Regions from separate parts of the Homo sapiens genome. Here all the other regions are linked to region 1. Evidence: promoter capture Hi-C in 16 types of primary human blood cells and fetal thymus (Javierre and others, 2016). All regions are on one chromosome and are shown on one strand. Each heading gives the region's core, a stretch centred on a gene start or on the middle of the fragment in contact. The rest is flanking DNA. Distances are from core to core; before and after follow the strand shown. Region 1 holds the start of LRRC8C (leucine rich repeat containing 8 VRAC subunit C). Region 2 overlaps LRRC8D (leucine rich repeat containing 8 VRAC subunit D). Region 3 has its middle 18 kb from the start of LRRC8D. Region 4 overlaps LRRC8D (leucine rich repeat containing 8 VRAC subunit D). Region 5 overlaps LRRC8D (leucine rich repeat containing 8 VRAC subunit D). Region 6 holds the start of LRRC8D (leucine rich repeat containing 8 VRAC subunit D). Region 7 has its middle 58 kb from the start of LRRC8B.

Evidence for each region. Contacts are between HindIII fragments. The CHiCAGO score rates a contact against its expected background, and 5 or more counts as called.
Region 2: a fragment that was not itself captured here is called in contact with the fragment with the promoter of LRRC8C in region 1 in 1 of 17 cell types (total CD8 T cells); the score reaches 5.7 in total CD8 T cells.
Region 3: a contact is called between a fragment that was not itself captured here and the fragment with the promoter of LRRC8C in region 1, in 11 of 17 cell types (total CD8 T cells, activated CD4 T cells, monocytes and 8 more). The highest score is 9.1, in total CD8 T cells.
Region 4: a fragment that was not itself captured here is called in contact with the fragment with the promoter of LRRC8C in region 1 in 3 of 17 cell types (non-activated CD4 T cells, monocytes and naive CD8 T cells); the score reaches 5.5 in non-activated CD4 T cells.
Region 5: a contact is called between a fragment that was not itself captured here and the fragment with the promoter of LRRC8C in region 1, in 2 of 17 cell types (non-activated CD4 T cells and activated CD4 T cells). The highest score is 5.1, in non-activated CD4 T cells.
Region 6: the fragment with the promoter of LRRC8D here is called in contact with the fragment with the promoter of LRRC8C in region 1 in 8 of 17 cell types (monocytes, total CD8 T cells, naive CD8 T cells and 5 more); the score reaches 7.8 in monocytes.
Region 7: a contact is called between a fragment that was not itself captured here and the fragment with the promoter of LRRC8C in region 1, in 8 of 17 cell types (activated CD4 T cells, megakaryocytes, M1 macrophages and 5 more). The highest score is 8.1, in activated CD4 T cells.

The regions. Positions count from the first base shown.
Region 1 is chr1:89,631,176-89,635,181 of GRCh38, reverse strand. LRRC8C (leucine rich repeat containing 8 VRAC subunit C) reads right to left here and starts at 2,062. Exons shown (of 3, transcript NM_032270.5): 1 at 1,860-2,062. LRRC8C-DT (LRRC8C divergent transcript) reads left to right here and starts at 2,288. Exons shown (of 3, transcript NR_033981.1): 1 at 2,288-2,525; 2 at 2,973-3,166. RefSeq lists enhancers at 1,091-1,140, 1,171-1,220 and a silencer at 1,601-2,260. The HindIII fragment of the contact is 6,667 bases long and covers 1-3,783 here.
Region 2 is chr1:89,856,313-89,860,608 of GRCh38, reverse strand. All of the region lies in intron 2 of LRRC8D (leucine rich repeat containing 8 VRAC subunit D), which reads right to left. Among named protein-coding and RNA genes, the nearest start is that of LRRC8D-DT, 37 kb to the right of the region's middle. The HindIII fragment of the contact is 172 bases long and covers 2,925-3,096 here.
Region 3 is chr1:89,800,848-89,805,159 of GRCh38, reverse strand. No RefSeq gene overlaps it. Among named protein-coding and RNA genes, the nearest start is that of LRRC8D, 18 kb to the left of the region's middle. RefSeq lists an enhancer at 2,581-3,082. The HindIII fragment of the contact is 2,617 bases long and covers 593-3,209 here.
Region 4 is chr1:89,836,450-89,840,227 of GRCh38, reverse strand. All of the region lies in intron 1 of LRRC8D (leucine rich repeat containing 8 VRAC subunit D), which reads right to left. Among named protein-coding and RNA genes, the nearest start is that of LRRC8D-DT, 17 kb to the right of the region's middle. The HindIII fragment of the contact is 1,450 bases long and covers 1,479-2,928 here.
Region 5 is chr1:89,874,520-89,878,563 of GRCh38, reverse strand. All of the region lies in intron 2 of LRRC8D (leucine rich repeat containing 8 VRAC subunit D), which reads right to left. Among named protein-coding and RNA genes, the nearest start is that of LRRC8D-DT, 55 kb to the right of the region's middle. The HindIII fragment of the contact is 670 bases long and covers 1,478-2,147 here.
Region 6 is chr1:89,818,844-89,823,111 of GRCh38, reverse strand. LRRC8D (leucine rich repeat containing 8 VRAC subunit D) reads right to left here and starts at 2,080. Exons shown (of 3, transcript NM_001134479.2): 1 at 1,821-2,080. LRRC8D-DT (LRRC8D divergent transcript) reads left to right here and starts at 1,318. Exons shown (of 1, transcript NR_185885.1): 1 at 1,318-2,938. RefSeq lists silencers at 1,111-1,330, 1,202-1,411, 1,502-1,601, 1,702-2,051, 2,492-2,551. The HindIII fragment of the contact is 10,555 bases long and covers 1-4,268 here.
Region 7 is chr1:89,464,894-89,468,732 of GRCh38, reverse strand. No RefSeq gene overlaps it. Among named protein-coding and RNA genes, the nearest start is that of LRRC8B, 58 kb to the left of the region's middle. The HindIII fragment of the contact is 960 bases long and covers 1,254-2,213 here.

The DNA.
Region 1 (4,006 bases), core at 813-3,312:
TTTTTTAAAAGATAAACTTCATGGAAATAAAGTGCAACATTTTCATTCATTTATCTTACAGCTCCTAATGCATTATTTTCACTAAAAGCATTCCCTTTTAAAAATACATTTCATTAAAGTGCTTAATCTGAGAAATAATAGATTAGTACTATTAATAAAGGCTTGATTTTATTAATAAGAAAATTGTTAAATATACTTGGTATCTCTGATACAATTGTTGGGTTGATGGGTCCTGTCTGTGCCCAATCTATTATGTGAACCATGGCAAATATCCATCTTTGCAAAACTGCCCTACATCCCCCTCAAAGGAAACAAACTGACCCCAAGACAGAACTTAATCACTCCAGAGTAAAGCAAACCAATTATAGCCTTGGCCTTCCCTGTTAAAGCAAGTCACAAGAAATGCAAATATCCTAGACTAGAGCTGTATACATTTAATGTTTGTTTACACACTCAACACATTGTTTATGAATTGAGCGAGTTTTATGCAGCTCAGATTACGTTTTGGGTTTTCAACAAATTATTTAAAAATAAACAGAATTTATAAATGTATAAAAATTATTGGCTCTGGCGATTTTGCAGCATTGTGCTAACCAAGAGGACTACTCCACTTTTACTCCTTTTTCGTCTAAATGGCATCTTAATGACCTGCCCACGCTGAAGCCTCATCGATGCTTTGGGAAACCATCACATACCTGTCGGGAAATGTGACTGTTGGTTAAGGCTACGTTTCTCACACTACCGCGAAAGAAGTATGTGACTTACAAACGGCTGCGATTTCCTTTACCTATTCCTTCCTTCAAAGGCTGCTTTAAATGGAGGTAATTCAAGCCTCCCCGTGCCAAACACCGGCACTCCAACAAAGATGGATTGGTTCTTATTTTTTACTTTGAGGATGGGAACCTGAAAATGTTTCCTAACGTTTGCTGAGGCTTTAACATGTTTAAGGAATTTGAAACCAAGGGAAGTTTAGCCGTAATACTCTGAAATATCCGCATTAGGATGCGGGCTAGGTGTCCGGCTGTTGCAAAACTACGGAGGATGCGAGGTTTGGAAGAAACTGTTTGGACTTTGCTGTATACCGGGCAGGCGTGGGGGTTGGGGAGGGAAGAACCGGCTGAGGGAGAAAAGAAAGGCATTCGTGTCCACAGAACACATCTAAGGCTCCTGAGTTGCTAACTCCATCCCTAATCATCTCATTGGTGGGAACCAGCTGGAAAGGGAAAGATCAGCGAGCCTAGGCGTGGGATGAAGGCAGCGGTTTTGGCCTCAACCGCTGGCCTAAACACCTGGCTTCTGGGGCCCGCCCGATCAAGCTGAACCCCTTCCCTCCTGTCCTGCAGGTGAGCACACGGTGCTCTCACGTTTCTTCGAGAAACCTTCCAATTCCTTTCCCTGCCCAAAAGTGCTAACTTCAAGGGTTCGGAGGTGGCAGGGGGGTGATAGACCGGAAAGGACTGGCCCCGGGGTCTCAGAGATTTTCGAGGTAGGAAAGAACAACGATCGCCCCGGCCACGGACGCATTTCCCCTCGCGGACCGCCCCCCCACCCCCGCGCCCAGTCTGCAGGACCTGCCGCTGCGGCGCGGCGTTGGGCGCCAGGCTGAGATCCTCGCGCGGCCGCTCGGGCTAGCGCGGATTGGGTGGGGTAGGGGTTGGCGGGCTCCTGAGCCGCAGTAGCGGAAGGTTCCCAGCACCACACGCCGGGCGGGCAACCACATTCTGCCTGTCTGAGAGCCGGGGGGAAGCAAGGACGCGAGTGAGGCGGGGCGAGTCCCGGTCCGGCGCGCACAGCGGACCGAGCGGGTGGCCCTCTGCGGGCTGCCCCTCTCCATCCCTCCGCGGATCCCCCGCCCTTACCTCCGGGCGCGAGAGTGTCGACTGGAGAAGGTGCTAGGGAGCGGCGAGCTGCCTGGGGGTCGGGCTCAGCGGCTGCCAGGGACGGCGGCGTCGCCCGCGGGGTCGCTGCTCATGGCTTGTCGCGCCCGAGCACTGCGGCCGCGGCCACGGCGGCGCCTTCCTCCTACTTCTCTTCGCGGGCTTCCAGCCGGGACGCAGCTAACGCCCCAGCCCCGCAAGCCCTCCTCCCCTCCGCCTCCCCGGCCGCGGACGGAGCCGCCTCCAGCGCCGCCCCGCACGCAGCCCGGCTAGCGGCAGCCAGCGCCGCCCAGCGCCCGGCCCCGGGGTCGCCACCGCCCGCCGAGTCGACTCCGCGGTGCCAGCCCCGCTGTGACGCAGGCCGCGCCGCCCGGGAACTTCCTCCCCTGCAGAGACCACCTCGCTCCCGGGACTCGCCAGCGAGGGATGCCGCCGGCCGCCGGGGGCCTTCTCCAGGACCAGGAGAGAAATCCTCTCTCCGCTTCACGACGCGGCCACTCCCACCCCTGAGACGCCCACCTGGCGGACTCTGAGGGAGGATTCGGCTGCGTCTAATACCACCTCCACCCCTCATCCCTCACAATGCGCGGAAAACCACAGGCGGCTGTGCGCGCAGCGTCGGCTCAGCCACCGCAGCTCCTCCCCTGGGTAAGTTAGAGGGGAGCAGCCACCACTAAAAATAGCCCTTCTGGGAACTCCTCCGAAGGCCAGGGTCAGGATGAAGATAACCCCTCCACAGGAGAAGCGAAGGCCTCCTAAGAGAAGGGTGGGGAGGGGACGGTGGGATAGAATGAGGAAGATGGAGAAGGAGAAAAGCAAAACCCAATATCCTTGGATCATGAAGCCCTTGAGCCCCTTGACAACCAAGTCTCCTTTCAGGCCGGAATCCCCAACTGCACCGCCCCTGCAATACGGGCTAAGGGGCAGATTCCAGGGAGACTCAGTTGGAATGCCCCGCCTACAGCTCCCGCATAAAGGAGTTGACGGTGCACAGCAAAACCACCTGTTGTTTAACGAGTATGGAGGGAGGGGTTCTCTCTCATTGATTGATCTGAACCGTGCTTTTCTTCTCCCCATTTTCCCACCCAATTTCAGGATGAAAAAGCACTCTGACGTCTTGAAAGCTGGCAGCTCTCTGTTTGGAAAATCTCTGCCCAGTGAAAAAATGTACCGACAAGATTACTAAGTAACACAGTCTTCTGGGAATGCCTTATCAATGCCAGCTATTTGAAGAGCACCCAAAGTCAAACTAGTGCTCCGCGCTGGCAGTCTGGAAAAGGCAGATGTATGTGAGTAGAGAAACTGATAGACAACTAGTTGCTGGCCAGTTGGCCTGTTTTCGTGCTACAAGCCTTCAGAAAACAGTCGCCTCCTTTTACCACGTTTCTATTTCTAAACCAAAATGAAAAGGACGTTTGTTCAAAAGATATTCTCTTGGGCTTTACATTGCTTTCCCCCTGCTCACTCAGCAAAATCCTACACTTTTTTTCCAATTCCAATGCTGCTGTTGGGTGTCCTTCCCAGAAGACAACCTTAAATTCTCTTAGGCCTTAGGAGCTGAATCTAACACCAGTCTTAATTAACCTACAACAAGACAAAAATTTAGGTCCGGGCTTACCTCCTAGTCAGCAGATGGGAAAAATTCCTAGAGAGTCTCTGGGAAAAAGGCAAAGGCTAACTTTAGCAGTTTGCTAGAAAAAAAAAAATTCAAGTACCTTGTAAGTCACCAGGGTAGATGCAGCAATACTCTCTAAGGTAGCTTTACCTCTTCAATTCTCTTACCTTACCTGAATTTAAACACAGTGAGGCAAGTACCAAGGTCACAACCCTCCTGTGGAGGGCCTTATTCTGCAAGGGCTCTCTGATATACTTCTATCTTTGTACCGTTGGCACCTGACCACAAGCTTAGGCATCCCTGAAATGCTCCCTTGCTACCCAGTGTCAAGGAATCATTGAACCTTAGACTTTGTACTCAGGTGAACCAGGATGAAATCCCTATTCTTCCAGTTTAAACTTAGGAAATTTACTGTTCTTTTTATCTGCCCCCTCCCCACCACCCACATCCCCTTATCATCCCTATAGGTATAGTACTACAGGGTGCTGTGAGAATTAGCTAATATGCTCAAAGC
Region 2 (4,296 bases), core at 1,761-4,260, 220 kb before region 1:
TTTTTTTATTTTTAGTAGAGACAGGGTTTCACCATGTTGGCCAGGATGGTCTCGATCTCTTGACCTCATGATCTGCCCGCCCTGGCCTCACAAAGTGCTAGGATTACAGGCGTGAGCCACTGTGCCCGGCCACGTGTACATTTTAAAATTGGACGTGTAAGAGTAAAGAGCCCTGGGATCAATAAACTTACTAAGGAGAAAGATGAAGGTGGGCCTGTCTTTGGTTAGTTACTTCATGGAGGATGATGTAAAACCATTTCTGTTAAGAAAGGAATTGGAGTTGCCTTAATTAACTTTTCGCATAAAAGATTTAGTTTAAAATGCTATTGATCTGAGAGAGATCAGAAAGTGTTGAGGTTTTCCTTTCTTCCAGAAAAGCTTAAATTGTACATTTTCTTTATCTTGGAATGGTTCGGATATAAGCATGCCTTAGGTAGGAGATTTGTAAGCTTTCTTGCTCAGCACCGGTGAAAACCTACGTAGTAATAAAAGGCTCATTAACCAGTGACCTTCAAGTCAAACAAACTATCTGGCTTTTAGGCCCCATCCATAAAGTGGAAATAATACTTGGCAAATAGATATTCTGACACTGCTGTAAAAACGTTGCTTTTTGGTCTTACTATTACTGCCCCCCAAAATATACTGATTCTTCATCTAGAGTTAAGTTCTAAAACAGGCAGAGAAATTTACTTCAAAGTAATTTTTGTCATTTAACAATTTTCACTTTCCTATTTACAACCACCTCTTGGAAGCACAAAATGGAAGGTAGCCTCTCTGTCAATGCACTGCTCTAATACCTAGATTGTGTACTGGCTTCCGTGCAGGACTGATCACAAGCTCTCACTTTTTTCAAAGAGCAAATGATTAGGAAACATAGAGGAATTATCACAAAATAAATGGATGAAAAGGCAAGTAGAAAATAGGGCCTATCAATCCTTTCCCAAGAGTAGTTATTATGGTTCACATTTATAAAAGCAAAGATCACCTATTATACTTTATGTCCTTTTGGGGTAAAAGCTCAGGGTTACAAATAATCCTCTTTCCCTGTATTGAAAATAATGAGAGGATTATTTCTTCCTCCCATTCACAATCCTTAACCCCGAACCATTTCTATTTTCACAGCTATACCTGAGGAACAGAGGCAGATAAATGTTATAACAACAATTTCGACAAGTTAAAAACAGACGAAAGGGTGCAATGTCAGCAGTCAAAGGCACCAAGGCAACATAGGTAAATGCTTAGATAAATGTGTTAAGATAGTAACAACTCCTAGAATTTTTATCATTGTTCGACACTACTATCTCCGTGTATGGAGTCTCTCATTTGAAAATGAGCTTAAAAAAAAAAAAAGAGTCAAATTACCTAGCTTTGCTATTACCTACCATTACTCCCTACATTTACCGAATAGTCTACTATTATGACTTGTAATGCGAATTTAAAAATTCAATTACATTTCAAGCTTATCTTAATAAGCATCCCAGAAATTTGATTTCTGACCCCTCTACTTCTTATAAGATATCTCACCAAAAATTTTGTAAAGAAAATTTATTAAATTTACTTATAATCCCTTAAATAACAATTGTTTATATTTTGTGTTCAATTGTAGACTTTAACATAGCTGTAATAATCAGTGTATTGTGAATGAATTCTTTTTACATTTATTTTGTAAAGTTTTCTAATTGTTTTATTTATGTCAAAATGTTTAATTCTATTAGTTTTAAACAGAATGTAACTATGACTTCATTTCTTGTCTTAAATGAAATTTCCTTGTTCTAACAATAAGCTATATTAAAATGGAGGCCTACAATTTTTGACCTGGAAGTACAGAAAAAGGCATCTGCTTTTATAAACTTCCTTCTCTCAGAAGACTCAAAAAAATTTCACTTGTCATTTGTTCACTTTGATGCAGCAAGTAAGGAAGGAAAAAAAAAAAGTCCAAAATTAAAATTATATTTACAAAATTTTATTTACTAAAATTATACTTACAAAACTTATAACTTTCTTGAAAACACCTGTAAGATCCATTAGTATTAAGACAACTTTTAAAGAAATCAACATTTCATCTGTTTGCACTAAGTCATGCCACTTTCTTAAACCTTAATTGGGGTTTGGTTTATATGTAAACCTCTAAAACTTCAGAAGATATAATTAACATCATGAGAACAGTAATGGTAATTTTCTCTAATATTTCACAAGGTGGGGAGGTGAGTTCCCTGAAATCCAGATGGACCAACAGCCTCACATTAGCTATCATCTCTTCACCTATTACCACAGATACTACCTGACATCCCCTCTCCACCCCACCCAAAAGGAGATATTTCATAACAGCAAACAAAAAAAGTATTACAAAGTTGTCATGAAAAGCTATACTTTTTTTGAGATGGAGTTTCACTCTTGTCGCTCAGGCTGGAGTGCAGTAGCGTGACATCTCTGCTCACGGCAATCTCTGCCTCCCAGGTCCAAGTGATTCTCCTGCCTCAGCCTCCTGACTAGCTGGGACTACAGGTGCTTGCCACCACGCCCGGCTAATTTTTGTATTTTTAGTAGAGACGGGGTTTCACCATGTTGGCCAGGCTGGTCTCGAACTCCTGACCTCAGGTGATCCACCCACCTCAGCCTCCAAAAGTGCTATGATTACAGGCGTGTGCCACCTTGCCTGGCAAAGGCTATACCTTAAAGTGGTTTTCAAGTGCTCTAATCCTACTCATTATTTTTTGAAAGATAGTGAAGAGCAAAAAGACATTCTACTTAGAGGAGAACCTCAATAATGCAGAAATAGTGGGGCCTGGTTAACTTTACATATGTAGAAAACTTTATGTCAAACCACAGGGTAGACTGATTCCAAGTCATTCTGAGGATTCAATTTTCATTGTGTAGGCACAGAAGGTATAGGACAGGGGCTGACAACCTTTCCAATGCAAGCTTAAAAGCAGTAAACCCCTTTCCTTTTTCCCACTAGTGGAGTGCAAGTAATTATGGGATAATGTGCTTATCTCAAGGTGGAAGCAGAGAGAGGGTATACATTTTAGAATCATAGATTTTCAGCTTATTTCGCTGTGATTTACCTCTTTCTTTCTCACCAAAATGGAAAAAGCTTTGTTTCTGATTATAAAATACCTGCTTGTTATTTTTTTTAAAAATCAGATAATACAGAAAATTATAAAAAGTCAAAATCACCTATAATCTCCACTCAGAGATAATTACTTTTTTTTTTTTTTTTTTTTTTGAGATGGAGTTTCGCTCTTGTTGCCCAGGCTGGAATGCAATGGTGTGATCTCAGCTCACCGCAACCTCCATCTCCCAGGTTCAAGCAATTCTCCTGCCTCAGCCTCCAAGTAACTGGGATTACAGGCATGCGCCACCACACCCGGCTAATTTTCTATTTTTTAGTAGAGACGGGGTTTCTCCATGTTGGTCAGGCTGGTCTTGAACTCCCAACCTCAGGTGATCCACCTGCCTCACCTCCCAAAATGCTGAGATTACAGGCATGAGCCACCGTGCCTGACCCCGATAATTACTCTTAATGTCTTGTTGAAAAGCCTTCAAATTTTTTTCTACGCATACACATACATATGTTTTGGGGTATTTTTTTGTTTTAAGAAACTAAAATCAATTATAAACTCTAGGGTAATCACTAAAACCTTTTTAAAAAGAAAGTATAATTGACATTCTCAAAGAGGAGATAAAATGGAATTATATGAAATGTTAACTTAAAACCACAGTAGGCAGTAAATGTGGGGGGAGAAACAGAGCATATGCAATGAATAGAAAACAGTTACAAGCGTGGTGGATATTAATCCAACTGTATCAATAACCACTTTACATGTAAATTACCTAAACACACCAATTAAAAGACACAGATTGTCAGAGTAGATAAAGAAAACAAGACCCAAATATATACCGTCTACAAGAGACCCATTTTAAATATAAAGACTTAGGTTTAAAATACCTAAGGGATTTGAAAAGGAAGCTAAGATCATAGCAGTAAACTGCTTGGAGATCTGATTTTCTATCTTTCTGTGAAAGACAAAATGTTTACCTATTTTACAACATTTGAGGAATACAGAATCACATTATTTGACACAAATTAATGACAGATGAATACTGCAGGCATATACTGCTCCCTCATCTTGCTTGTATCCCACAAATAAAAATCTGCCAATCATAAGAGCATTTACTTTCTTTCTTTAAAATAACCTCTCATATCTTATTTCTGGAAATAGAGAAATATTAATAAATGCTGTTATCCTTACCTGAGAGTGTGTGTGTGTGTGAGAGAGAGAGATTACTGTAGCA
Region 3 (4,312 bases), core at 652-3,151, 170 kb before region 1:
CTGAACCTTGATTTCTTAACCTATAAAGTGGAGATTAATAATACCTACTTTTCAAGGTTGTGAGGATTTAATGGTATCCACATGAAAATCCTATTCTGGACTAATGCTATATTAAAACAAAAACAAAACCAAAACCAAAATACAGAGACCCACACAGACACAGCCATTTTCATTGCCCATCCTGTGGCTTGTGACATCGGATCCATTGATAATACTGTATCTTTTTACTGTTTATTTCTTCTCTTCTTGGCTTCCCTTTTTGGTCTCCAGCTGCTCCAGGAGGCTTCCTGCTTGTGTAGCCAGCCTTCTCACGGAGCGCCCTCTAGTGTCAGATGCTGTAATGACTCATTCTGTCTGCACAGTTCAAGTTTCTAATGCAAGACACACTGTGCTTTGAAGGCTCTTGTAGCCTACATAAAAACATCTTTAATAGCAAGTTACACATCAACACCGAGGAAAAATTACTTTATGACTTTACAGGCATAATATTAATGACTTATGAACAAATTTATTATTGAAACAAAATCTTTTGGTAAATACTGTGCAGGTTGAGGATAGAACTCAGGAACCAATGATGCTTCATCCTGAAGCTTCCTCTTTCATGATTCCAAAGCAACTGGCAAAATGTTTCCCTCAAATGCTTTTTAATGATGATGATTTTGCTTACAAATTTCTTCTTCTTCTTCTTCTTTTTTTTTTTTTGAAAGAGTGGCAAATATTGAGAGTCTGATTTCTGGGGCCAGTTCTGTTATTGGATAATTGGGTGACCTTGGTTAAGGAATGCCCCCATTCTGGATCTTAGTTTCTGAAAATTAAAAATGAGATCTGTAGACTCCATGATCACTCAAGTCTCTTCCAGCACATGGTTCTTTGCTTATATGCAGAGGTGGTGAGAGGAACGGATCTCACACTGGGACAGGAGTCAGAAGACCTACATTTTTATTGGTGTTCCAATATTTACTAGTTCTGGAAACTTGGTCAATCATTTAACCTGTCTGGGCCTTAGTTTCTTCATCTGCAAAATGGGAAAGAGGCCTTTTCGGCCTTATTCACAGAATTATTAAGAGATTCGAGAAAAGATACTGTTCACAAAATACTTTGAAAATTACAAAGTGCTATAGAAAATGCAAGGTTCAAAAATAAAGACCTTGGCCCACTGCAGTGGCTCATGCCTGTGATAATCCCAGCACTCTGGGATGCCGAAGCGGGCAGATCAGCTGAGGTCAGGAGTTCAAGACCATCCTGGCCAACATGGTGAAACCCTGTCTCTACTAAATATACAAAAATTAGTTGGGCATGGTGGCACATGCCTGTAGTTCCAGCTGCTGAGGAGGCTGAGGCAGGAGAATTGCTTGAACTGGGGAGGCAGAGGTTGCAGTGAGCCGAGATCACGCCATTGTACTCCAGCCTGGGTGACAGAGCGAGACTCTGTCTCAAAATAAAATAAAGACCCCTTCCAGTCATCTTTTTACAAATGATGCACGGAAATTAAGGGCTTTAAACACAGACTTATGTCAGTTTTATTCCTAGTCCCACCAGTTAGTGGCTTCTGTAAATTTAGGTAAATCTAAGCCATATTTCCATTAACAGGAAGAGAAGTCGACATTGTTGTGGCGATTAAATAAGAAATATATGAAAGGGCTTAACACAAGGCGTGGCACATAGTAAGACATCAATATATGGGTGCTATTATTTTTCTCTAATCAATTTTATTCTAGCTCTTAATGGGTAAAGTAGCTAAGGAAAAAAGTTAAATGATTTTTCATTTAATCAAAACCTCATTCCTAGAACCTTTTGTGGAATTTTATTTATTTATTTAGGAACAAGGTCTTGCTCCAGCACCGACGCTGGAGTGCAGTAGCACATTCATAGCTCACTGTAGCCTCTAGTTCCTGGGTTCAAGCTATCCTCTTGCTTCCGCCTCCTGAGTATCTGGGACTACAGGTATGCATCTGTATAGCAGGGTGATTTTTAAAATTTTTTGTAGAGATGGGGTCTTGCTATGTTTCCCAGGCTGGTCTCAAACTCTTGGCCTCAAGCCATCCTCCTGCCTTGGCCTCCCAGATCTCTGGGATTACAGGCATGAGTCACTGTGCCCGGCCTGGAATTCTTTTTAGACCTGCTGTTTATCTCACGTCCTTAATTCTAGGAATGTGTTATGTTAATGGGAAAATCATCAGAAGGCCTCAGACTGTGTAAGAATGGCAGGTTAAGGTACATGCTTTGTTTAGAGGTTTTTCTGGTAATGTACTTAAATAGCCAACTCAGAAATTCAATATCCTAATTGATTTAAGAGGCCAGTGCTACAAAAACAGGGTGATTATACAAAAAACTCCCAATATCTAGATTCTCTGGATTTGGAATTCTCTGTCTGCTGGACCACGGTGCTCACAGATCTGGCACCGGCTTACCCAGCATACGCCCCTGTGCTCTGCCAAGTAAAGACTAAACATCAGGACCGGTGGCAGGACAGCCTCTCCTTGTCACTGGGTCCTCAACTCTGGTTGAGGGCATCACATCATATAATTTGAAAATAAAAACAAAACACAGCTGGAAGCCCAGTGAGATGCTCTGAGCCCATTGCTAGCGCTGTGGGCTCTGGTAGGTGCTGCTGGGACTGAGTAATGAAGATTTAAATAGGCTTGTTCACTTTGATTTCACAGCCATCCCTTCCATCTCTGTTAGACTTGTGTAAGCAACTGAGGCAAATGCCCCATGGGAGCTAGCTGGCACTTTATCTCAAAAGCATTTAGAGGGCTGATGGGAGAGGTACTTCCATATCAACAGAGGTACTTCCATATCAGTAGTCCAGTGCTATTTCCCCTGGCTTTTGAAAAACAACTCTCATGTTCAAGCTGTGTAACAGAAAGGGATAGCTCAGATTGCCAAACAATACAGACAAAAGAAGCTCTGGGCCTCCCTCCACTTCTTTCCTAGCCTGGTCTCCCTGACTACACAGGAGTCCCTCGAGGAGGACAATGAGAATCACATGGAAGAACAGGTGCAGAGAGTTGGAAAGTGATGGAGCAAGCCGGCTCATTCCTCCCACATTTCTCTTGTTTTTAAAATTAAGACTCCTGCAAACAATATGTTTAGTGTGATGTGCATTCAATTAGAAGCAGAGTGACCAGACAGTGGTGTTTTACAGCCATGCAGCTGCCAAGCCGCCACTCCACCAGGTGAGGAAGCAGAAAAGTCATGTCCAAGCTTTCCTAAGTGCTCCCTCTCCACAAAGGGCATCAGGGCCTCTTTGCACATTGTCCCAAACAAGCTCATCGAAATGGGCCTCTCTGCTTTCTGAGGTGCTTCTTGCTTTGTGATATCCCATGAGATGGGTCAGAGAGGACCAGAAAGGAGATTGTCACTGAAAGGGCCTCTTTCTGCATTTTAAATCCTCTTGCTTATGTAATTAGGAAACCAAACACTTTATAACAGGTCAAGGCCCACCAAACTCTAGTATCTATGACATAAATAATAAGCCCCTTCATAAACAAACCTGCCTTTTCTGCAGAAATCCGCTGAAGTTAGAGAATCTAGATTCAAATCCCAGCTCAGCCACTGATCAGCTCTGTGATTTAGGGTAAATCCTCCAGGACTGTAAACAGAGAAAGTATCTTCTACCTTCAAAACGTGGTTATGAGAATAAAAATTAAAATGTGGGCTGGTTTATGCAAAGGCTGTGGAAATTGAAGGGGATGTTTAAGAGTGCCTGCCTGGCCCTTGGTGCACATCCAGTAAATACCTATGGAGTTGGCTACAGGAGTGGGAGATGTGGGATGTCAGGCCTAAAGCATGCAAGCTGATGGGGAGATACATGGGGGCTTTATCTTTGCCTACTCCCTCCAATCATTTACTCTGTTCATATGTGAAACTGACTTCAATTCCACTCAGCTACAGTATCCCCACCAAACAGCATCCACAGACTGGGCCATAGATCAGTCTCTAAAAACCATCACAGCAGGGCTGGGCATGGTGGCACATGCCTGTAATCTCAGCACCTTGGGAGGCTGAGATGGGCAGATCACCTGAGGTCAGGAGTTCAAGACCAGCCTGGCCAACATGGTGAAATCCTGTCTCTTACTAAAAATACAAAAATCAGCCAGGCATGGTGGTAGGCACCTGTAATCCCAGTTACTTGGGAGGCTGAGGTGGGAGAACCGCTTGAACCCAGGAGGCGGAGGTTGCACTGTGCTGAGATCACGCCACTGCCCTCAAGCCTGGGTGACAGAGCGAGATTTCGTCTCAAAAACAAAACAAAACAAAACCCAAAACCGAAACCATCGCAGCAGCCTGTTAAGTGGCCATGTGCCAA
Region 4 (3,778 bases), core at 954-3,453, 200 kb before region 1:
TGCGCACGTGTGTGTGTGCACGTGTATGTATATATATTAAAATCACAACCTCATAAAAAGAAAAAATGCGCTCTCAGGTAGGCACAAATTATGCCACAAAAGATTTTGGAAAAATGTGGAAGGTTCACTTTGAAAGTCTCCACTCCCTAAGTACCATAATCCCCAGATGAAGAGACCAACACTGTGAAAGCCATTTTAGAAGCTCCAAATTCAGTTTCAAGAAATAGCTTTTCTGAGGACTAATGGGTGTGGAGGAGGAGATGATAAACTCATCTCTAAAAAACAATGCTGCTTATCTTTCTTCATCTTAAGAAAGATCTTAGTTTGGCGGTTAAAAATGTTTGCCACAAGCAATTCTCTGTGTGAATATCAGGAGTCCTGGTGATTATTACACATGGATTTTACAAACAAGAAAATAAAAAATGACAAGCTGTCTGGTTGCCAAAGAGATGACCCTCTGCACTATCAGCCTTCACAGCAGTGTCCCTACCTTGTCTTCACCTCCGGGGTAGCACATGCAACAGGATTTTCTGGGAAGGAGGTCTCTGGCACTCACATTCACTTCCTGGTCTCTGCAAAACCTGAACCATGGCTTTCAAGGAAGCCTTTCGCAGAGCCAACTGGCTGGCCTGATTGGCATTTACCCATAGAGGATTATTAGCCATCTTTAAAGAACCAGAGTAAGTGTCATTTCACATGACAAAATGCAGCAAGGGGTCGCAAATCATGTTTAAAAAAAAATATGCCTGTAAGATAGTTTCCTGATTTTGAGAAAGCAAGAAGGAAAGCACTACTTAAAGCACCCCACAGCATGACTTAGAAGATCCAACCACCAGGCAGGTAGGGCCAGGGTGGCTACAGGCCTGAGCTGGTATCTCTCTAAGCTCAGTGCTCCAATTTCCTCAGCTTCCAAACACACACAATGAACCCACACACCTTGCACAAAATTACTAACATTACATAGGACAAACCCTCACAGGCCCTGCCTCAATGAATTCTCAGAACTACCTTCGCAGGGAGGTGTCATTATTAATGTGTTACAGAAGCAGCAGCAGGGCTCACAGATGTTAAGTGATATTCTCAAAGCCTTAGGTAATGGAACGAAAACTCACCCTGGGTCTGTTCTTCCTTCTTTTAATTGAATAGAAATGAGTGGGTGCATTTTGGCTGTGGATATATTATTCTGCACTACATATCTTTTGCTCAGAAAAAAAATCCCACTTTAAAAAGATAACTTGTAATGCTCTCTCTCAAGTGCATCATACACCCTCATCACCTCGCCAGATTTTGGTAAAGTGTAAAGGATAAACATGTATTTTGTAATAGGTCAACTGACTTTAAGCCATAGGAATATAAGTAGATATAAATTAGGTAAAATATGCACTTGAGCTGCAGCTGGATATTATTTTATAAAATAATAAGACTGATCCACTGATCAAACTGTGATAAACAAAATCTTAATACATTTTTTCCAAGCTTCCTCTCTCATTCTTCAATTAGTATGCAAAAAAATGCATGTAAAGTAGGACATGATGGTTGATGTACTGGGATTTACTAGGCATAATACTGTGAAAGAAGGGTAAGATCCCCCAAAATTCTGACTAAATGCAAATACCTGTATAAAAGACTGTTCAAAATGCTCCCAGCACAGACTGCTAGGAATGAATAGCCTTGGATTATTTAATGACTGTTGATTTTGATGTGTATTACATAGATGAAATACTGTCCTATAATTCATTCTTCTTTGGAAAGCATGTTTTGTCTGTTAATCTTCTGTGGTAGTATCTGCTTCCTTATTTGAAACATTGTTTTAATTCTCTTTGGGCAATCTTATTTATCTTATTTTTATTTTTGAGACAGAGTCTCACTCTGTTTCCCAGGCTGGAGTGCAGTGGCACAGTCTCAGCTCACTGTAGCCTTGTTCTCTCAGGCTCAACCAATCCTCCCACCTTAGCCTCCCCAGTAGCTGGGACTACAGGAGCTCGCCACATCCAGCTAATTTTTCTTTTTTCCCCCCTTTTTTTTTTTTTTAAGGGACAGGGGTTTCGCCATGTTGCCCAGGCTGGTCTCAAACTCCTGGACTCAAATGATCCACCCACCTCGGTCTCCCAAAGTGCTGGGATTACAGGCGTGAGCCACCACGCCTGGCCTGGGCAATCTTGTTTTTTAAATAACATATTAAAAAGCCCAACAATGTAAAAGGGTTGGATCCTAAAAAGTCAAATAAATATAATGTTCATTATTAAGAAGTGTTCTTAAAAATGACTTTCAGAGTTCATAAGGAATAAGTCACACACATCATATCTTGAATACAATTCTCCATTATACATTATAATGGAGTCTACACGAAGAAAAACAATTCATGAATAATTTAAGGTTACAAAATTAGATACTTTAAATTTCATCTCCTTTCCTTTGCCTGTAGTGGAATAGCCAAGGCAAATAGCACGAAAGAGAAACGGAGTACCTGAAAACTCCAGAAACTTTATTATGAACTTTTAATAGCTTATTCATCAATTTTTTAACTAACCCTAGTTTAATAAATGCCAAGCACTTTACATGTATTAACACTTCAATGATTCCTGACAACAACCCTATGAGGTAGGAGTTATTGTTATCTTCATATTACAGATGAGAAAAGAGACATGGACATGGAGATGTTAAGTAATTTGCCCAAAGTCACACTGCTAGTAAATACTAAAACTTCGATAGCCTGGCTGACCAGAATCTACTTTAACCAACACATTTTCTTACCCATAAGACCCAATTGGATTGAGTTTGCTTTCCCTTGTGTGAAAGTTCATGAGGTACAGTGCCATAAATACAGCAGAAGAAAAGAAGTGGGGAGGAGTGGGGTGAGGGGCTCAGAGACTTTCCAGTTTGTAGCAAGAATGTAACCACTTGTCTAGGGGCACTAGGCTGAAAGCTTTAGGAAGTCAGGGATGCAGAGCCTGGGCCACATTGCTGAATAAATAAATATTAAGAAGGAAAGAAAAGGTATTTGCAGAATGAAAAGGCCAGGAGGAAGGGCTGCTTCCTCACCTTGACCAGAATCCTGGATTTCAAGGCTCCAGGATTGCCTGGCTACAGCACAACTGAATTAGCAACTGAAAGGAATGCAGTGAACCCATGTACTTTGATCTTGGTAAAGCAGTTGATACAGTATCCTGTGAAATCAGGATCCTAAATCAACCAAAACTTATGTTGTTCCAAGAACCACACAAGTTAAGCAGGCTAGAAACAAAAACACTGGCTACATCTACTAGTATGATGAAGAAAAAGCCACAAGGAACGGAATTCAATCCGTATTCAAAAGTAACTTGGAAATTACTCACGCTGTTTTAATCAAATTTGCACATAACATTAATTTGGGAGGTGTGAAGAGGGCAAATGAGGGCGAGCCAATTGACTTAGTTAAATTAGCAGAGAGGTGAAGAAAAACAGAAGTTCAGTTTCATTTTTGTGTCCCCTTTAATTTGCAGGGAGTGGCTATGGATGTCCAATGGGTAGTAACCACCTCTAAACCTAAAATGCCAAGACTGAACTAAGTAAGCAATAGCAAATAGATACATGTTTAAAATGTTAAGACTTCAGGTCTGAACTTCACAGAGCATGATCGTATTATTCCATACACTATCAGTAAAGTTCCATGGGAAATAATATTCCTTTCAACAAGACTTCGTTAGGAAAACCCAAAGAAAAGAAGGGGCTCAAAGGCTGAGTTTAGGAGGTCAGATGAAAATGTCAGTGGCGTATGTATAATCTGGCCCCACTACAA
Region 5 (4,044 bases), core at 563-3,062, 240 kb before region 1:
TAAGTACAATGAGTCCATGGAAACTCTAAGCAAGTTCAATGCATCTCAGATACATTCAAACACAATCCAGAATTAGAAAAGACAACCAACAGAACAATATGGCCTAGAGAATGGGACTACTTGCATAAGAAAATACCTCTTGCCATCTAGCCAAGGGCTTTCTTCTCATATTATGTACTGATCAACAGGTGTTGGCAATGCCATCTTACAGGTCAAAAAGGCAGCTTGATGAGCAACTGTTGAGCACATAATACCTGCTGAACACTCTGCTGTTCGAGCCTTGGATAACAGATCTAGGCACTATAAAGTATTTTCACATCACTGCTGTCTCAGAAAACTTAGAAGCAGATTTTCAAGAAGCTGCACTCACTGGCTTCTGGGAGGTTTTTAAGTGATATTGTTTATCCACTGCAAGTCTATGGAACTAATTAGTAAAAAATACTGAAGATGAAAGAGTTAAGAAATAGCCACTGGATTTTAAAAACCCATAGTGACATGATTCTGAATTTTCTTTCATTTTTCAATTTCTATCACTGCTATCATTTACACAAACAAAGGGAACTCGCACCTCTCAAACAGTTCCTGCCAGTCCTGCTCAGCTTCTATAAAAGGGAAGGCACCAAGCATACTCATGTTAGGAGATTCTGACACGTCTCAAGATAAAATAGAAACATACTTCCTTTCAAATATTACTATGATTCCTGCTTAGGAACAAGAACTAACACTAAGAAACAGTCTGCTTCTAAATAAAAATGCCTAGTTTATTTTTGAAGAGTTTCAGTTATCTATAAAAGTTTACAGTGACCATCAATAAAACCTAGACAATACCATACCATGTATGTCACGTGCTGGACCCAACCGTGTTAACTGTAACAAACCTGCGTGGAAGGAGGTGAACCACCGCTGGTCCCTAAATTAGGAACAGGCTGCATTAGCCACGTTTTAGGAACAGGCTGCATTAGCCAGGTTAATATACAAATTACTCTGAAATTCAGAATCCACTTTCCTTAAAACAGAAAAGGGGGAGTGGGGCAAATATGTAAGGATTATTTTCTTAGATTAGGCCACAAAAAATCATGAAATAATAATAACAATAATTAAGAACAGCAAACACTCACAAAGCTTTTACTATGTGCAAGGTATTTTTAAAGCACATACACACTTAAAGCTCATAAAAATTTTAAAAGGTACTGTTATTATCCTTGTTTTGCCAATGAGGAAATTGAGGCAGAGAGAAGCTAAGTAACTTGACCAAGGTCAAAAAGCTGTAAGTGGCAGAACTGGATCCCTACAAGTAACTCTTAATAAACACAAATTTAAAAAAAAAAAAAGAGAGAGAGAGAGAAAGAACTGTTTGAAGTTTCTTCTAAAATATATCCTATCTAGATGTTCCTTTCCTTAGACTCCCTCTTTCCAGAGGCCTAAAGCAGACCCTTGTCATATTTGACATTTTACAGCCAATCCCAATCTGAAAGCTTCACTTTAGTTCTGCAGTTCTGCATTATCCAACATGGTAGCCATCAGCCAAATGTGGCTATTGAGGTTTAAATTAATTTTTAAAATTGATTAAAACCAAATAATATGAAACTTTCAGTTACCTGGTCACATTTTCCACACTTCATGTGCTCACTATCCAAACTTCAAGGGCCAGTGGCTACCAAATTGGAGAGCAGATAGAAACTTTTCAATCTTCATGTAGTTATTTGGTAAGCTATCCAACAAACTTTGTCTATAAAGGACCGAATGCTAAATATTTTAGGCTTTGGAGGCAGTATAGTCTTTGTAACAACTACTCGACTCTATCAGTGTAGTGCAAAGCATCCACAGACAATGCATAAACCAATGAATGTGGCTATGTTCCAAAGAAACTTTATTGCAGAAACAGGCAGCTGTCCTGTAGACCACGGTTAACTAACCCTTATTCTAAATGACTCTGGAGTTTTCACATGGATTTTCCCTTAATATCTGATCTCCCACTACCCTGCCACCTCTCTGCTCTAACCAGGCAGGGAAAGAATTCCATCAGAATTACAGAACCTCTCTGCACTCTCTGTGGAGACAAACCTGTCTTATATAACTCTTTTCTTCATCTCTTTCCCCTCACACGGGAAGTGCACATCCTCTAACCCAGTAGTTTTTAAGAAGCTTAAAATAGAGATTTTTGGGCCCCATCTGCAAAGCCTGATTTAGTGGGTCTGAGGTGGAGCCCAGGAATCTGTATGGTAAATGAGCCCCACGGTGGTTTTAATCCTGGGGGTCCGTGGACCACAGTATAAAAACACTACTTGCCATTTAAATAGTAGGTAGGAGAATGGATGAAGAGGATACATTCTTTTCTAGTAGCTGTAATTCCTCAACCACAGAGAAAAAGCTATCACTTAACCTCAGCCCCAGGAAAGTCCAGGTGTCAGCAGAGCAGACGAAGCTTCCAACGGGTCCAGCAGGAAAGAGCTCTGAGTGGATGGAAGCCTGGAGAAGAGTGGTATCTGCCTGGCCTGGGAGGTAGAGGTATTAGGAGCTTTTCAAAAGGACCTCAGGGGCTGACATGCTCCCTACCCAACATGATCCCAAAATATGGAGTCCCACCCTATCTGGTGTTCCTGAAAGCAAGAGGTGGCACTAAGAACCTTTAAGAATCTTTATTTTTTAAATTCCTTTACAAACTGATTCATTCATTATTAGCTGTGACCTTGCGGAAGTTCCTCAACATCCTGGTGCCTCAGTTTCCTCATAAAATGAAACAGTATACAAAGCGTTCTTGTGAAAATCAAATAAAATAATATTTGCAAGGCACTTAGAACACTGCTTGGCATAGAGTAAGTCCTCTATAAGTGTTTGTTAAATAAATAAAAATTTCATTTAAACATTTAATAAGCACCTTCTATGTGTTGGGTACAGTGTCAGATGACAACATATAGAAATAAAGAAGACCTTAAAAGAGGTGGAAGTTACACTGTTGTATATGAAAGGCTTTCTCTGACCATGTAACACCCCCTTCTCTCATTGCCCTATCTCTTTATCTTGCTTAATTTTGTTATTAGCACTTATTAAAGGATATCTAATAGATATCCATGAAACACATGCTTATCAGACTCATCTACTATATGGTCTTCATAAGGATAAGGATTTTGTTATATTCACAACTGTATAATCTAGCTTCTAAAACACTGCTTGGCATTCAGCAAATGATCAAAAACTATAAAATAAATGAATGAGTGAATGAAGAACATTTAATGGACACCTATTATGATATTTTGTAAAGACCAGATAGTTAAATGTTTCAGAGCTTCTAACTTTCAATCCCATGCATATTTTAAAATTTGAAATCTAGTAAACTTCTCCCATGTTAAAAAAAATCCAACAGCAATGCCTGTCAAAAAGGCATTTGTATTTTCAATCAATTCCAAAAGATTCTACCGGGCTACTTAACCTGTACAAAATAATATTGGTTTGTAGCTTTATACAGGTTTTTTTTATCCTCATATTATTCTTGAGAAGTAAGGATGGGATAGATATTCCCCCCACTAAATAATGAGACAACAGGTAAGAGAAGTTGCCTCGTCCAGATACAACCAGATCAGCAACACTGAATGATTCAAATTCCCATTATAGGAACATATTCCCACTGTATAGGAACTACTGCAATGACAATCATGGTAAAGTCTCAGTAGAACTAAGAATTAAATGAATTTATGAATAAACATTCTCACTCATCAATTCAGCCAGCCTCTTCTTCCACCAACTTCTTAACATTTTTGGATTACTGCTTAAGTCATTATTCTTACTTTTATCTATGAACAGCAATTATACTCCTTAAATGCCACCTTTTGGCTACGAGTCAATTCAACATCTACAATTCAGATTATTGCAATACTTCATCATTGCTAGATAATAATGACATCCTTTGTCAATACATACTGAGTGGAGAGGAAGGCAGAATCCATAGATAAATGGCAACATGTGGACCCTATCCTTACTAAGCATGGGTTTTTGTTCTTTTTTTAGGTGATAAAGTCACTGAAGGGTAATAGTAAACTTCACTAC
Region 6 (4,268 bases), core at 831-3,330, 190 kb before region 1:
GACAAATCTAACATAGTGTTCAAATATATAAATAAACTGTGCCAATTCAAGATTTTGGAATTTTTCCCTGGCTCCATAGATTACCTAATCATTTTATGGGGGGCTCCATAAGTAACCTACAGAGACCAAACACCCCAAATCAACTTTTCGTGACCCCTGTTTTAACCACCTAATTTTCATCTCAGATTCCTCCCCATCTTGCACTTGGATTTTAACAGGGATTTAGTTAGTTGGTGTCAAGACAGATGAAGCAAGAACCCCAACTCTCGCCTAGCTGACAGTAGGTGTTTGGTCACTATTTTTGGACTGCAAAAATAAATGCTGCCTGAGGACCCCATTTACAGGATATGGTGCAGGGTTCTTCCCACAGGTCTGTAAGAAGCAGAGGTCCCAGATGCTATGGCGAGGAAGGTCTGATCACTCTCATTCTTGGCACTGGGAGGGGCCCCTTATTTGTTTATAAGGTAGACAGCCCTCATCATTACTGCAAACGGGGATTCCCTGCCTGTCCAGACTCTTCCAAAGTCCGGTACAAACCACGTAATAGGTGCTCAATAAACGCTGCCTGTACGGAATTTTACTATCAAAGCTGCCAAGGAAAGTTTCCAGAAATCAGCTCTTCCAAAATATGTCCTCAGAGTTTTCTTTGTCCAACAAAAAAATATTTTTGAAGATCCAAGAGCAGGAAATCTGCGAGGCAACGAGGAGCCAAATATAAGCCAAGCGGCTCCAGCTGGGCCCCACATTCCGCTAGGACTCCCCAGTACCTATTCCCCATCTCTCCGCCTACATCCTGAGTGCGCCCTCCCTCTCATCTCGGCTGTTTCCTTCCCACAACCCTACCTCCATACTTTCGGCCACACACACCCCAAGTGCGTGCTCCTGGAACCTCACAGCCCACCTCTCCCTCTCCAGCAAGGACCTACCTCTCTTCCCCTCGACCTGCAGCAGTTCTTCTTCACTGCAGCTGGCTTTTTAAGAAATCAAAAAATCTCATTTATCTGCAAGGGATACCCCCTAGTAAAGGGTGACGGAAAGGAGAAGGCCCCTATCAACCCTCCAGTAACTGGAGGTGCTGGTCCTCCCGGCAACCACCCCCAATTCTCCTCCTTTTCAAGCCCCTGGACAGGATTTGAGCAGAAGTCCCGCTCCCAAGAGCCCACGCCTCCAAACAAGCTAGAAGCGGATTATACCGGTACCCAACCCGGAGACGGCCCGCGGACGGCTGGGTGCACCTGCGGGCCCCCAGCTCCCTCCCACAGGCGCGGGGGGCGGGGCGCGGGCCTTCACCTCCCCGCCCCCGCCCGCCGGGCTCCCAGCGCAGCCCACCCTGCACAGGAAGGAAGCGGAGGGGAGGCGATTCTGGAGAAGTTAAAGGGCTCACCTTTGGACGCCGGGCCAGCAAGGCCAGACACCAAACACCCACCTCCGGGAGGAACCAGCAGAGCCGAAACCGGCTCTCCCCGCCTTTCCGATAGGGCGGAGGGAGGTGAGAGAAGGGAGCGCGCGCGAGGGGTTCAGGAGCCAGGAAGCCGCACTCCCCTCCCGCAGGGCCGGCCGCCCGGGGCCGAAGCGGCCGACGCTCAGACTGCAGAAAGCGGAACAATCTCCCAGGCCCTGGCGGCAGCAAACGGGAGCCCACTCCGCTCGCCGCCACCTCCTCCCGACCCCCGGACGTCCCCGAATGAGTTCCCGGCCGCAACCGCAGCTCGGGCCGCGGCGCCTGCGCCAGGGTTGCGCGCTCCGGCTCGGCGCGGCTCCACCTGCGCGTCGCCTTCCCTCGCAGCCCCCGGCCCCTGCCGGGAGAGGTGCGCACCAACCTTGGGGTGCAGCTCGGCCGCCAAGCCACGGCTTATGCTGAGGCCGGAGGTGGCGGCATCACCCGCGGCGGGCGGCGGCTGCACCGGGACGCGCCGGGGCGGCGAAGGCGCGCTGCACCCTGGACCCTGCTCCCGCGGCCCCGCCCGCGGCTGCCACCTCGAAGCGCGGCGGAGGAGCCGGGGCACCACGGGCGGCGGCAGCGGCAGCGGCAGCAGCGGCGACGGGAGCAGCAGCACATGACTCTGTAACGAGGGGAATTAGACAAAGCGTAACATGGACTCCGGGCCCGTGCAGGCGCTGCAGCTCTGGGACCAACCGCAGCCGGCGAGTGCCGCGACTGGCCCGGCCGCAGCCAATGGGGCGGGCCCGGGCCTCCATGTGATTGCGAGCGCTTTCTCCGGTGGCCCTGCAGCGCCTGACCGGACGGGGTCTGTGTGGCGAGGGAGGGGACCCGGGGTTGGAGACTGGCGGCGAGCGACTGCTAGATGCGGAGCAGGTGCTTGGGAGGGGAAGAACGGCAGCCTACATAACCATCGCCGTAATGCTCTCGCAAGCGTCCACCTGGGCAGGGCTCGGTGCCGGGCAGGCGCAGCTGCCAGTTAGCTGCGAGGCATGGTCAGGAGCCTTCACCCGTCCTGGGCGAAGGAGGCTGTCCCGTCGACTAAAACTCTGATATTAAGACTTGGCGCTGGGGGTGGGGAGTTGAATTACGTTAAAAAGTCACTTAAGTGCCTTCCAACTCTAAGGAGAAGTACTTATCTGAGCTTTGGGGCACACACAACTACTACTTGGCATGGAGAGTTTCTCAGCTTCATGTGTTCCGTCTGTTATTGAAGCTGTATTGGAAAGTCGGTTCTTGTTTTTATCTGAGCCCGCCGTTTTCATCCCATTCTTTTCGTCAAAAATATGTTACATCTGAAAGAGGCAGATGAAAAGATTATTCTATGCTAAGAGGGTTTTGCAGCCCGATAATGTCACCGTTTTTTGTTGTTGTTGTTGTAGGATCGGGGTTCATTTGCAGTCTTTTTTGTGGGTGAGCAGAGGCAGGGGCCAATAAATAAATTAAGGCGGGATATTTGGAGTTATTTGGTTGTAATAAAATATGTGGTTCAACCCAGTGCTTTCATATCTTCTTTTATCTGAATCCATGTGTTTCTGTAAACCATCGGAAGTCTAATCTGTCTTCTACCAATATCTCTCCATGTCAGCAAATGTTCAATCAACGTTTACCCAGCATCTAAATATTCTTAATAAGCATGCTGCACAAATGTTACAGGTACTCAGGAAGGTGTCGGTTCAGAGACAGTGAGACATTAAAGAGAATGATTGTCCAGGGTTTCAGAAAAGGATTCAGAGAGGAGCTGATAGAATTGACCCTTGGATGGTGAGCACTTGGCCCTCAGGCATTGGACGTGAAGAAGAGCAGCCCAAACAGGAACATGAACAGAGAGGTCCAGAATACACTCAAGGGACTGCCCGAGACCCGTTACAAGATGCCACCAGATTCTGAGCCCTCGGCCCTTTTGCTCTCACTTTCCTTCCCCGACCCTCCTTGCCAGCAGCCACTCCTGTTCCACACACTGCCAAGAAGGAGGTGTATGGGCAGGGAGTGTGTGTAAGTGATCTAATCAGTGTCAGATTTGCTGATCTAAGAGATGAGAGGTCTTTTAAAACTTAACAACTAGTGGTGTGATATTTTTATTGAAAACAGCCCACTATTATAATGAATATGGAATGTTTTGCTGTTTGTAAAAAAAAAAAAAAATTATAGGCCGGGTGCAGTGGCTCACGCCTGTAGTCCCGGTACCTTGGGAGGCCGAGGCAAGAGGATCACGAGGTCAGGAGTTAGAGACCAGCCTGACCAACATGGTGAAAACCCGTCTCTACTAAAGACACAAAAATTATCTGGGCATGTTGGCACGCACCTGTAATCCAAGCTACTCAGGAGCCTGAGGCAGGAGAATCGCTTGAACCTGGGAGGCGGAGGTTGCAGTGAGCTGAGATGGTGCCACCACACTCCAGCCTGGGCGACAGAGTGAGACTCCATCTCAAAACCAAAAAACCAAAAAAACCAATCTTCTGTACTTTGTTCTTTTGATCTTCCCTGGGTTTTAAATTGTGATTCTAGACTTGAAAAACATGATTTTAAGATTGGTATAAATCGAGAAAAGAAAAAAGTGATATTCAGAAAACAGTCAAATGTGGAGAAATAGACACTCACACACTGTAAAAGTAAGAGGAAATTGGACAAACCCCTTTGGAGGACAATTTGGAAATTTTTGATAAATAGGTGTGTTCCCTTTGAATAGGTAAGTCCATGTCTAAGAGTTTGTGCTTTAAGCATATTTGTGCAAAAATTATGTCAGAAATATTTACACATGTACAAAAATATATATATACGTGTCTTATTGCAACATTGTTTGTAATAGTGGGAACATGTAATGGTG
Region 7 (3,839 bases), core at 484-2,983, 170 kb after region 1:
CTAAACTGTACTAACATATTCCAGCTAGAGTCAGCATGAGAAATAATCTGGAGACAATTTTTGAAGCTCCTCATTATTTCACAGATTCAGTTATTCCAGGTTAAACCATGCCTTTCATTTACTGAGTGTTCTAAATATTCTTCTTTGCTTTCTCAATATGGTAACAGAACACAGAGAAATGTACAATGTGAGTATTCTCTTTGTTTTTTAATGTCAATAACTTCTTTTAGAACTTGAAACAAACGTGTCTGTTTTGTCATTTATTAGTATTCAGTCCTAATTTATATTTATAATTCATAAAATGTTTTATTAGTCATTTCAGAATTTGATAAAAAAATAAACCTTTTAGGTATCACCATTATACTCATACAATCAGTAAGGAAGCATGCTCAGAGTTTAACCATTCAGCTAGTGCATGGTGGAAGTAGGACTTAAACTTTTGTCTTCCAACTTCAGGATGTGTGCATGGCAAGGGCTTCATCAGGAAAAAGCAACTTTGGGGATGTATATGAATTTAAATCATTCCTATTACCTTGAATAAGTTGAAATGATCCTGCATATTTCAAAATGTCTAATTAAAACACTTTAGAAACATCTTTTTTTTTTTTTTGAGGTGGAGTCTCGCTCTGTCACCCAAGCTGGAGTGCAGTGGCGCTATCTCGGCTCACTGCAAGCTCCGCCTCCTGGGTTCACGCCATTCTCCTGCCTCAGCCTCCCAAGTAGCTGGGACTACAGGCGCCCGCCACCACGCCCAGCTAATTTTTTTTGTATTTTTAGTAGAGACGGGGTTTCACCGTGTTAGCCAGGATGGTCTTGATCTCCTGACCTCATGATCCGCCCGCCTCGGCCTCCCAAAGTGCTGGGATTACAGGCGTGAGCCACCGCTCCCGGCCAGAAACATTTTTTAAATGTACCACCTGTGATTCTTCAGCAACATTTATGATTATTTTAAATACACAGGTTATTAATTCATAATCAAATTGAACTACAATGCTAGTATAAAAAATTGTCAACAAATAAATCTATCATTAAAGGAAATTTTTTTAAAGTTGTTCCTTTGGGGCTAGTTAATGTATAACATCTTGAAAGTAAAATTATTTTAATTCTAGCAAGCTAACAATACTATATCAGGTTAAGAAACTATTTTGACTACAATATTGTCTTTACTCATAAACACCTATCTTGGCATATAGAAAATTTCATTAAAAAGACTTTTTTTTTCCTTCAGCAATTGATAACCACAGTACAAAGCTTTCTTCCACTGTTATTTTAAAATATAAACCTGGCTTGTAGCCAACACCAACTAACTTGAGACAGAGCGGGAGGTTATTAATGTTAAGCAAATGGAGATTCAATCCTGATTTTCAGAATTTGTTTCTATAAAGCAGAGAATTACACTCAGTATGAAAGTACCATGCTGTTTTTTTTTTTTTCAACCAAGCAGAGGTATGCCCAGCATTTTAGAAACCACAAAATAAACACAGAGACTTTTGTACAAAATAAAGAAGGATATATCCATTTATCATTGCAAAGAAGGGTTCAAATATTTTTTAACTCTCATCATGACTTCTTGTAACACATGGGTCATTTAAAATATGTGTTTTTATTTCAAGCTCCTTTTCATTACTGATTTCTTAATTTATTGTGGCCAAATATATACTCTATATGACTTTGTCCCTTTGAAATTTGTTGAGAATTTATTTTGAGGCTCTGTTATTACATACATAACAATTTAGAGCCGGAGGAGAGAGGATCAAAAAACTACTTATCACGTACTATGCTTATCACCTGGGTGATGAAATAATCTGCACATAAAACCCCTGTGATAGGCAATTTACCACATAATAAAACTGCACATGTACCCCGAAACGTAAAATAAAAGTTAAAAAAAATTTAGAAATATTTTGTCTTTCTCTTGAATTAAAACATTTATTTCACAATGGCCATTTTTATCTCATTTCCCTTTTGCTTATCTTCTTCCCCTTCCTGCTTCTCCTTTTCTCCCCTCTCCTTCTTCTCCTCCCACATACCATACATACATTGTTCTAAACAAACCAAAAGAAGTTGCATTTTACTTACAACAAAAGTTAATCCAATTGCTCTGAAAGAAAATTTAATGATTTATAAAACCCAGGTCAGTCTCAAACAAAAAAGAACCCATGTTACATTTCCACGTGACTCCACACGATAGGGGCATTCAGGTAGTAGAAGCTTAGTGGTATGGCCGGTTTGCTATGGCACACAGCTCTTTCTTTGTGGTTGATGATGTGTCTACTAACCACATAATATCTTCATTACCAGTATCACAGAGGTATCACCAGGAAAACTACTTGTGTGACCTGTCCTAACACAATAATTTTTATTTTTAATTGTTCTGGATTTATCCTTCTCACAGAAGTTTCGATATTATACTGAACTTCATTCAGGACAAAAGGATGCTTCCCTAGCACAGCAGGGATGTGGTTTTGTGGTTTTAACATGAGTTGATGGACTGGCTATTATTCTAGATGCTGTTATCCATGATCAGGATTTGCTACAATTGTCATTCTGGACAGCTATTGATTAAAGCCTCTTTGCTTACCAAAAATAGAAAACACACGTTTATTGAGCCTTCATCCTGTGCCAGGCCTTATAGAAGTGTACATCACAGAGGTATTTAGTCCCCAATTTGTTTTGATAGTTCTGTCTAAACTTTTAAAGAAGAAGCCAATTTGGATAACACAAATGGTCATTGCTCAAGTAAAGCTGAAACACCCTGTCATTTGTATGTTCATAAACACTTGCAAAATACTTTCTATGAGTTCCCTAACCCTCAGGATGATGCCAGGGGCAGGTATTATAATTAAGAGCTTCTAGTAAAGGGAGTTGAAGTTTAAAGATATTAAGTGATTTTTCCGAGATCCCTTTAGTGGTGGTAGAGTAGGGTGCTGAGGCATACTGGAAAGGGCATGGCATCAGAGAGACCTGAATTCAACTTCCACCGTCTCTGTCATTTCCTGCGTTACCTTAGACAGGTTCCTGAAATATATCTGATCCTGTTTTTCATATTCCTTGGCTTTGACATGGGGTTCTTGATGGGTTTAAATTAACTAATGAGTGTGGAAGTGTCTGCAACCTGAAAAGTGTTGTCAGAGTGTGAGTCACTCTTATTTAATCTTTAGGTAAGTGATTACAGTGTCACAGACCACATTTCAAGTCAGACAGAACTAGTTGTAACTAGCATGTGCTGCATGAATTTGAGTGTGTTACTTGAGCTCTCTGGGTATGTGTCTCCTCAGCTGTAAAATATGTGTCATAATGCAACCTTGTGTATTGTGAATATTGACCAAAGCCACAGAAGTGAAGCTGTGGTGCACAGCTCACAGGAGGCACTTGGTGAATGTCAAGGCTTCTCTTTCTAGAATCAGCCCAGTGTCTGTATTGGGACAGCACCATCTCCTTAGGAGAGCACTGCCTGCATTAGTCTAGCACAGGAGATCTGTAATGGACTATGCGGGCCATTCCATGGATAAGTAATCTGACCTAGAGAGGTGAACTGACTTTTTCAGGTCATAGAGCTAATGGCAGAGTTGAGAGTTGAACTGCATTCTGATTTCAAATTCAGTAATTTTTTTTAACATTATTAACATTTTCAAAATTCAATAATACATTTTAAAAATTGTCCTTGCCCTGTAAAAGTGATTTGTATTAAGAACACATTCGTATATGTAGATAGCATTGCTAGTGCAGGTGAATCAAACCTGAATTGTTCTACATCACAAATAGCCAGTATAGAAGTTTAAGTGCAGAAAGATTTCTTTGTATATCTTGGGGTATTCTCTGTAACAGAACCACAGTGC